Linked DNA regions of Homo sapiens: region 2 is linked to region 1. Evidence: promoter capture Hi-C in 16 types of primary human blood cells and fetal thymus (Javierre and others, 2016). All regions are on one chromosome and are shown on one strand. The core of a region is centred on a gene start or on the middle of the fragment in contact, and the rest is flanking DNA. Distances in the headings are between cores, read along the strand shown. Region 1 holds the start of CAMSAP1 (calmodulin regulated spectrin associated protein 1). Region 2 has its middle 3.0 kb from the start of BRD3OS.

What was found. The method cuts DNA at HindIII sites, captures the fragments that hold promoters and counts their contacts. A CHiCAGO score of 5 or more calls a contact.
Region 2: a contact is called between a fragment that was not itself captured here and the fragment with the promoter of CAMSAP1 in region 1, in 1 of 17 cell types (neutrophils). The highest score is 5.7, in neutrophils.

What each region holds. Positions count from the first base shown.
Region 1 is chr9:135,906,213-135,910,953 of GRCh38, forward strand. It overlaps CAMSAP1 (calmodulin regulated spectrin associated protein 1), which reads right to left and starts at 1,334. Exons shown (of 17, transcript NM_015447.4): 1 at 788-1,334. The coding sequence starts at 947. It overlaps CAMSAP1-DT (CAMSAP1 divergent transcript), which reads left to right and starts at 1,621. Exons shown (of 2, transcript XR_007061860.1): 1 at 1,621-2,707. RefSeq lists silencers at 473-522, 923-992, 1,073-1,182, 1,223-1,902. The HindIII fragment of the contact is 15,122 bases long and covers 1-4,741 here.
Region 2 is chr9:134,020,150-134,024,903 of GRCh38, forward strand. No RefSeq gene overlaps it. Among named protein-coding and RNA genes, the nearest start is that of BRD3OS, 3.0 kb to the right of the region's middle. The HindIII fragment of the contact is 3,675 bases long and covers 1-3,290 here.

The DNA of each region.
Region 1 (4,741 bases), core at 84-2,583:
TACTCTAAAAAGGGTAATTTTTCACCAGAATAAAGGCAAATATTTTAAGAATGCTTCAAATGAAAAGAGGATTGCAGAAATATTAACCTTTAATTGTACCTGAAACAAAGCACCTGAAATTAATAAAGAAGTCAGCCACTGACGAGAATCACTAGGTCTGTCCTGTTCCCAGGGCACGAAACAGAAGCGTCTTAATCCACTAAGCACATTAGGGCCTAACAAACTGGACTGAGTAACAAGGTTACCTAGTTCTTCCAAACAGGAATTAACCAAAGGGGATCATTATGATTAAGCACAATGCGCGGAATACGCAATTTCTAGTTGGGGAATTCAACAGCTGACAGCTTGTAAGCATCAAAATTCATAACAAGTGCAAGGCTCGGAATCACAGGTCCAGCACTGGACGATGCCCGGCGCGCCGGGAAGCGGCGCCTCAGACGGCGGCCCCGCGTCCCCATGGTCCCTCCCTGCGCCCAGAACCGGGCAGCTCCTTCCCGCCGCCGCCGCCGCCAACGGGAGGCTGGGGGCACTCCCGAAATAGGAGCGGAAGCCCCGACCCACGCCGCCCTCCGCCGCAGGGACGCCCACTCGCCAGGTGACCGCGTCCCCACGCTCCGCGTTGCCCGGGCGCCGCCAGGACCTCGGAGGCGGCCGGCCCAGCCCCGACCCTGTGCGGACGCGGCACAAAGGCGCGGCGCGCGGACCCCGACCCGGCCGGACCCCGGCCGCGTCCCCCGGCCCCGGCCCGCGCCCCTGGCCCCCGCCCCGCGCCCCTCACCCGGCCCACCTCGGCCGTAGGCCTTGGCGCAGATCCACTGCAGGTTGGCGGCGATCTTGGCGCGCGCCGCGTCGTAGCGGTCCAGGGGCACGAGGTCGGCGGCGCCGTCCGGCGGGGCCTCCATCTTCCTCCAGCCCTCGGCGGCGGCGCGGCCGCTCGCGTCCACCATCTGCAGACAAAGGGCTGAGGCGGCGGCCCGGCCGCAACAAAGGCGCCGCCGCCCCTCGCCGCGCCGGGCCCGGTGCGCCCCGAGCCACCACTCGGCCCCGCAGCCGGCCAGCCGGGAGGGGCGCCCGAGCGCGGCCCCCGCCTCACCTCACAGCCGCCGCCGTCGCCGCCCCCGCGGCTGCTGCATGCTGCGGGCGCTGAGCCCGAGCGGAGGAGGTGCCGAGCCCGCGGCCCAAAGAGGCGGCGGCAGGAGGGCGCGGGCCGGGGGCGGGGGCGGGCGCGGGGGCGGGAGCGGGCCGGGGGCGGTGGCAGCGCGTGCGCGGTCCCGGGTGAGCGGCGGCGGCGGCGACAGCGGCTGAGGCGGTGGCCAAGGAGCGGGAGCGCGCTCACCGCCGGGGCCTCGCACAGGCGCAGTAGGCACCGCCCGCCACCCCGCCCTCGACCCCGCCCCCAGCTCCGCTCCCTTCTCGCGCCTGCCCCGCCCCTTTCCGCAGGCGCAGTAGGCACCGCCCGCCAGCCCGCGCCCGCCCCGCCCCTTTCCGCAGGCGCAGTAGGTGGCACCCGCAGGCCTGTGCCTGCCCCGCCCCTTTCCGCAGGCGCAGTGAGCGTCGACCCGCCCCTCCCCGCCCGCTTCCGCAGGCGCAGTAGGACCCGCCCTGGTCCGCGCCTGCCCCGTTGCTTTCCTCAGGCTCTAAGGCCCGCGGTGTGGAGCGCGGCGTAGGCAGCGGGGAGTGGGCGGCGCGGGGTGGGTGGAGTGGGTCGGCGGCGGGGATCCTGCCGAGCCCGCAGCTGCCCTCTTTTAGCGCCGTGTCTCCTCCCCGGCCCTGGCTCGTCCCACCTCAGCCACAGCCCGGCCCCCTGGCCGGCCGAGGTCTCGCCGCCGGCGCCCTGGGGACCTCGTGGGTGTGGCCGGCGGCGACCTCGGCAGGCGACAGCCCAGCAGACGGGCACCAGGTGGACGTGCCAGTCTCCAGACCCCCGTCCCGGTGCAGGGAAGGTGGGCGTTTGGACCCCTGAGGCAGAAACAGGTGCGGCCCCGCCGGCGCATCCCCCGGAAGGGACGCTGACTTCGTTCCCCTGGAGCCTGCGTCGGGGCCCGCGCTGGGCTGAGAATTACGGGAACGCCGTGAGAGTTTGCATTCCGAGGATTTGGTCTGAGAACCTCACCAGCGAAATAGAGAACTGCCCCCGGGAGAGCCGGCCCACGTGCCGCCCACCGGCGCCTTGACGGCAGGGAGAGGTCGAGCTTCCAGGGAGCGGGCGCCCGGCGCGGGGCTCCCAGCCTGTCTGTACCTGGTCGAGACACCCCGTGCCAGAGGCGGAACATGTATGAAATGCCAGGTGCCCAGAGGACCCAGGCAGTCCGTCATTCACATACCAACCCACGTGCAGGCTTCAATTCAACCTTGAAGCCATTTGGGCCTGGGCTTTTTTGATGACTTATTTGATTCATAGTTTTTTGGTTACTAATTGAGTCTCTTCACTTGTTATAGGTCTGTTGAGATTGTCTATTTTTTCTTGAGTCAGCCGTCTGAAAAGAACACGAGGTGGACAGGGCAGAGCGGTCAAGGAAAGCCATAGGAGGAGGGCACTTATTTGAGCAAAGACCGGCGGGACGTGGGCGTCGAGGGTAAGGATATCTGCAGAAGTACTGTCTTGAGCAAGGAGCACGGCAGACAGAGCCTCTGAGACACGAGAGCCTGGAGTGTAAGAAACACAGTAGAGGCCACTAAGTCGAGAACGCAGGAGCTGGAAGGACTGGTAGGAAATGGGAGGTGGGGACATGGAGGGATGCAGACAGGTCCTGCACAGTCAGAACTGTGGCCCCTTCTCTGCAGGAAATGGGCAGCCTTCGGAAGACTGAGCACACGGAAGGATATGACTAACCCTTTAAAAGGGTCATTCTGACTCCTGGGTGAAGAACAGACTAGGAAGGGCTGAGGAGGAGGCAGGAGGCCATCTACTGTTATATGGGATGTGGAGTGTGACCCGGAAAGGTCAAGTGTGACTCTAAGGGCTTTTTGTGTACTGATCTTTTATCCTGCAACCTTGCTAAACCCATTTATTAGTTCTTCTTGTCTTTTAGTGGCATTTATTAGTTGTTCTAGTGTTTTAGTGGATTCCTTGGGATTTTATACAAAAGCGTGTCATTTGTGAATAGAGATCAGTTTATCTCTTCCTTTCTAATCTGGATGCCTTTTATTTCTTCTCCTTGCCTAGCTGCCCTATCTAGAAGCTCCAGTACAATATTGACTAGAAGCAGCAAGAGTGGACATCCTTGTCTTGCTCCTGATTTCAGGGAGGAGGCATCCAGTCTTTCACCTTTGGGTATGATGATAGCTGTGGGTGCTTAAAAAATAGGTTTTATCAGGCTGGGCACAGTGGCTCACGCCTGTAATCCCAACCCTTTGGGAGGTCGAGGCGGGCGGATCACGTGGGGTCCAGAGTTTGAGACCAGCCTGGCCAACATGGAGAAATCCCATCTCTACTAAAAATACAAAAAGTTAGCTGAGGTTGGTGGCCGGTGCCTGTAATCCCAGCTAAAAAAGGGAAACTGTCTAAAAATCATTAAAAAAAAGGGTACTTCCTCAACCTGATAAAACCTATTTTTTGTTTGTTTGAGATAGTGTCTCACTCTGTCACCCAGGCTGGAGTACAGTGGCTGGATCTTGGCTCACTGCAACCTCTGCCTCCCAGGTTCAAGCGATTTTCCTGCCTCAGCCTCCTGAGTAGCTGGGATTGCAGGCACAGGCCGCCACGCCCAGCTAGTTTTGTATTTTTAGTAGAGATGGGGTTTTACCATGTTGGCCAGGCTGGTCTTGAACTCCTGACCTCCAGTAATCCACCCCCCTGGGCCTCCCAAAATGCTGGGATTATAGGCGTGAGCTACCACGCCCAGCCGAGGAAGTATCTTCTATTTCTAGTTTGTTGAGTGTGTTTATCATGAAAACGTGTCAGATTTGGTTAAATGATTTTTCCACATCCATTGAGATGATGATCATGGGTTTTTTTCCTTGTTCTAGTAATGTGGTGTGTTACATTAATTGACTTTCAGATATTGAAAAGACACTTATCCCCTGCGTTCAGATAAATTCCAGTTGGTCATGGAGTATCTGTCTTCCTGGATTCAGTTTAATACAATTTTGTTGAGTGATTTTTTTTATCCATATTCATCATAGATACTGGTCTGAAGTTTTCTTGTGGTGTCTGTGTCTGGTTTTGGTATCGGTATCAGTGTCCTACTGGGCCTCATAAAATGAGTTGGAAGTGTTCCTCTTTTTTTTTTTTTTTTTTTTTTTAAGATGGCTGTTCACTGTATCATCCAGGCTGGTCACCAATTCCTGGCTTCAACTGATCCTCCCACCTCAAGCCTCCTGAGTAGCTGGGATCACAGGCACAAGCCACTGGACCCAGCTTTAATTGTTTAAGTGTTTCATAGAATTCATTATTGAAGCCATTTGGGTCTGGGCTTTTTTGATTACTTATTTTGATTATTAATTCAATCTCTATTTGTTGTAGGTCTATTCAGATCATCTGTTTGTGTCTTTAGAGGAATTTGTCCGTTTTATTTAAGTTACAGTGTTTTGGGCGTAAGCAATTTTAAGGAGAAAGTTATCCTTAACCAAGATGGGAAAGGTCGAGGCAGGGTGGTACAGGGATTTTACCTCCCACCAGGTATCTCCCACAAACTCCCCCTAATATAATACCGGCGGAGTTTGGGCTGTGGCTTTGGCTGTGTTGAGTCTCAGATGCCTGTTGGGCCTCCTCATGGAAACGCTGGTGGGCGATTGGATG
Region 2 (4,754 bases), core at 203-2,702, 1.9 Mb before region 1:
GTTAATTCTTTGTATTTTTAGTAGAGACAGGGTTTCACTATGTTGGCCAGGCTGGTCTCCAACTCCTGACCTCGTGATCCACCCGCCTCAGCCTCCCAAAGTGCTAGGATTACAGGTGTGAGCCACCTCGCCCAGCCCTGTCTTATTAATTTTAATAATTTGTCTGAGATTCTCCTGAATTTGTACTGTTAATTGAAAAAAGAACCCCACAATATCCATAAATACTCTGTTGCCCAGGCTGGAGTACAGTGATGCAATCATGACTCGCTGCGACCGCTGCCTCCTGGGCTCAAGCAACCCTCCTGCCTCAGCCTCCCAGGTAGCTGGGACTATAGGTGCCTTTCACCATGCCCAGGTACTTTTTGTAGAAATGGGGTTTTGCCATGTTGGCCAGGCTGGTCTTGAACTCCTGAGTTTAAGTGATCTGCCCGCCTTGGCCTCCCAAATTGCTGGGACTACAGGTGTGAGCCACTGCGCCTGGGTGACTTTCTTTCTCATAAAGGGTTACAGCCAGCAAGGTGGCCATCCCACAGGCTGGAAAATGTGCCTCTGAAGGAGGAGGGGTTGGGGCAGGAGCTCCATGCTGAACAGGTTGGCTAAACATACACATTCAACAGGTTATAGGAGGAGCTATGAATATTCATGAAGGTCCTGACAACATGCATACTGAACAAACATGCATGTAACATACAACTCATGTTCACCTTGGGGTGGAGACTTAGCATCAAAATGTACTAAAATTAGGCCTTATAGGCTGGGTGCAGTGGCTCGCGCCTGTAATCCCAGCACTTTGGGAGGCTGAGGTCTGGCCAATACGGTGAAACCCAGTCTCTACTAAAAATAAAAAAAAAACTAGCTGGGCACCGTGGTGCACACCTGTAGTCTTAGCTACTTGGGAGGCTGAGGCAGGAGAATCACTTGAACCCAGGAGGCGGAGGTTGCAGTGAGCCGAGATGGCACCACAGCACTCCAGCCTGGGCAATAGTGGGAGACTCCGTCTCAAATAAATAAAAATATATACATACATAAAATAAAATTAGGCCTTATAGTAAAAAGGTCTTTCCAGGACACAAAAGCACACAAGTATGCAGCCTCTCTGAACCAGCCGGAACCAATCCATAGTCAGTGGTCTTACCTGGAGAAAGTTGCTGAAATCAGTCTCTTGTTCAATGAAAGCTGTAGTTGGCTGGGCATAGTGGCTCACACCTGTAGTCCCAGCACTTTGGGAGGCCACGATGGGAGGATTGTTTAAGCCCAGGAATTTGAGATCAGCCTAGGCAACATGGCAAAACCCCATCTCTACCAAAAATACAAAAAGTAGCTGGGTGCAAACTCCACCTCCCGGGTGGACCTACTGGTACACCTAGTGGTGCACACCTGTAGGCCCAGCTACTTGGGAGGCTGAGGTGGGAGGATTGCTTGAGGCTGGGAGGTTGAAGCTGCACTCAGCCAGGATTGCACCACTGCACTCTAGCCTGGAGGACAGAGTGAGACGCTGTTTCAAAAGAAGAGAAAGCTAGTTATGGTGGGTGAATGGGGTCAGTTAGCATCTGGAGCTGGATGAGCTGCAAATCGTTTTAACATTGTTTATCTTGAGGTCAGTACTTACTTAGCTGCTAGAGAAAAGGAACAACCTCGTGGCAGTGAGAATAGAGTTTATTCTTTAATTGTAGAGGTGTAGGACTTAACTTGTGCCTGGCATGGCCCTAAATCTTATTAATTAATTAATTTATTTATTTTTGGAATCAGAGTCTCACTTTGTCACCCAGACTGGAGTGCAGTTGTGCCATCTTGGCTCACTGCAACCTCCACCTCCTGGGTTCAAGTGGTTTTCCTGCCTCAGCCTCCCAAGTAGCTGGGATTACAGGCATGCGCCACTATGTCCAGCTAATTTTTGTATTTTTTGTAGAGATGGGGGTTCACCATGTTGGCCAGGCTGGTCTCGAACTCTCAGCCTCAAGTGATCTGCCCGCCTTGGACTCTCAAAGTGCTGGGATTACAGATGTGAGTCACCATGCCCAGCCACAGGTCTTATTTATAATTTGGTATGTTATCGCCATAAAGAGTCTGTTTTTCAGTCTTCTATGTTTTCAGTCTTACATATTTTAACGCAAATGCTAGTGCCTTGTCTCTAAGTCACCAAAGGGAGGAGTTATAACGACATGAGTGGGCTCTCCTATCCCATCGTGGCTGGGAACTCAGTTTTAAGTTTTTTCTGAGGTCCCCTTGGCCAAGAGGGGATCCGTTCAGTCAGTGAGGAGTTTAGGATTTTATTTTTAGTTTATATTCCCTTCTTTTGGCCAAGATTTGCCAGAGATGGCATTGATGACCAAACTTTTATTTTGTCCTATATCGTTGCTGGGGCTGTGTGCTACCTGCACTGGGTCCATCTTGTCCCTTGGTGGGATCCCTATGGCCAAGAGACTTAGAGCCAAAAGACTGAAAGACAGCTAATTAAATGTTTTAGGACAGATAGGAAAGGAGATGGGCAGGCACTCATTCACCCTTAAAAACCTTTTGTGCAGCCAGGTGCGGTGGCTTATGCCTGTAATCCTAGCACTTTGGGAGTCTGAGGCGGGTGGATCACGAGGTCAGGAGTTTGAGACCAGCCTGATCAACATAGTGAAACCCTGTCTCCACTAAAAATACAAAATGAGCCAGGCATGGTGGCACATGCCTGTAACCCTAGCTACTCGGGAGGCTGAGGCAGGAGAATCACTTGAACCTGGGAGGCGGAGGTTGCAGTGAGCTGAGATTGCACCATTGTACTCCGGTCTGGGCGACAGAGCGAGATTCCATCTCAAAAAAATCAAAATAAAACAAACAACAACAACAACAAAAAACAACCTTTTGTGCAACATAAGAGGCAAAAACCAAAATCCAAAACGTGAGGTTACAAAATTGACTTATCTCTAAGTTTTATGTATTGAGCTATCAGCTATTTAGGTATTTGTGAACCATCTTTGATTCAGAGGGTCTGAACAAATTTTATCCCTCGAAACCAGCCCTTACAATCTCATGCGTTTACCTCTTCTGCAATTGTCCCTGGGCCTAGAGGGAGGGTGTTTGATATCAAATCAGATTGGAGCCAATGGGATTTTAAATCATTTTCAGATTCTGGAGATATCAGGTAGAAAAAGAGAGGTAATCTTCATTTTTTACTTAATTGTTGTAGCTATAAAATAGCTTAAAAGGAAAAACAGCTTTTTGACTCTGGAAAACAAAACATAAGTAAATGTTTCGAACAGAAATATAAGTCCTATTTGGTTTTGACAACGACAGGAAAAGGAAGCTTACAGGTAACTAAATATTCAAATTATTTAGTTCAAGGCATAGAACAAATTATATTAGCTTAGAGGCAATTTTTTTTTTTTTTTTTTGAGATGGGGTCTCACTCTGTCACCCAAGCTGGAGTGCAATGGTGCAATCTCAGCTCACTGCAACCTCCGCCTCCTGGGTTCAAGAGATTCTCCTGCCTCAGCCTCCTGAGTAGCTGGGATTACAGGCGCCTGCCACCACACTGGGCTAATTTTTTATATTTTTGGTAGAGACAGGGTTTCATCATGTTGGCTAGGCTGGTCTCGAACTCCTGACCTCAAGTGATGTGACCGCCTAGGCCTCCCAAAGTGCTGGGATTACAGGCGTGAAAACCGCACCCAGCCAGATAGAGGTAAAAGTGTTAAATGGGTCTTTGAATACAGGCCTGTTCTTGTGTCTCTTGAAAGCAGTATAACTTCGGTTGCTGTCTTTTCCCAGGTCGGAAGACTGGGAGATCATGTAAGATTTAAACGTTTTCAAATTTGTTGAAACTGATTTATGGTCCAGCATGTGATCAGTTTTGCTAAACGTCCTGTGTAGGTACTTGTGAAGAAAGTGCGAGGCAGGCGGATCACAAGGTCAGGAGTTCGAGACCAGCCTGGCCAATATGGTGAAACCCTGTCTCTACTAAAAATACAAAAATTAGCTGGGCGTGGTTGCCGGCGCCTGTAGTCCCAGCTACTCAGGAGGCTGAGGCAGGAGAATCGCTTGAACCTGGGGGGCGGAGGTTGCAGTGAGCTGAGATCGTGCCACCACACTCCACCCTGGGTGACAGAGTGAGATTCCCTTTCAAAAAAAAAAAAAAAAAGAATGTGCGTTCCACAGCTGTGGGCTTAGTGCTCACACTAAGCATCTTCCTTGGATGTCTGTTATGCTTATTTTCTTTTTTTTTAGAGATGGGGTTTTGCTGTTTCGTCCCAGCTGAAGTGCAGTGGCATGATTATGGCTCACTGCAGCCTCGAACTCCTGGCTCAAGGGATCCTCCTGCCTCAGCCTCCCAAGTAGGTGGGACTCAGAGGTGAGCCACCACACCAGGTTCCATTATGCTAGTTTTCTTAATTGGCATTGGAGAAAACCATAAAATTAGGGGAAAAGGGTAGATACTAAAAGAGTGCTATTGGAGTATGATTGGAGGTGGAGTGAGAAAAGGAAATAGACCTTGCTTTCATGGGGCTGTTGAGGAGTCCAAATGAGCAGTATAGAGGCCTGGCTTGGTTGGATGAGATGGAGAAATTCAAGACCTATTTTTGAGATAGTAAGCCCGGACATTTAATTAATTAAAAATAATTGTATCAATTACTGAGAGTAAGAATACTAATAAAAGCAGTAACAGCAGTGGCAAAAGTAACCACACAAGCAGAAATACGAAAACCAAGATGATAAGACCATACAGTCCGGCAGTGTCTTACTAACAGGGTTGTGGGCGTCCCACTCCT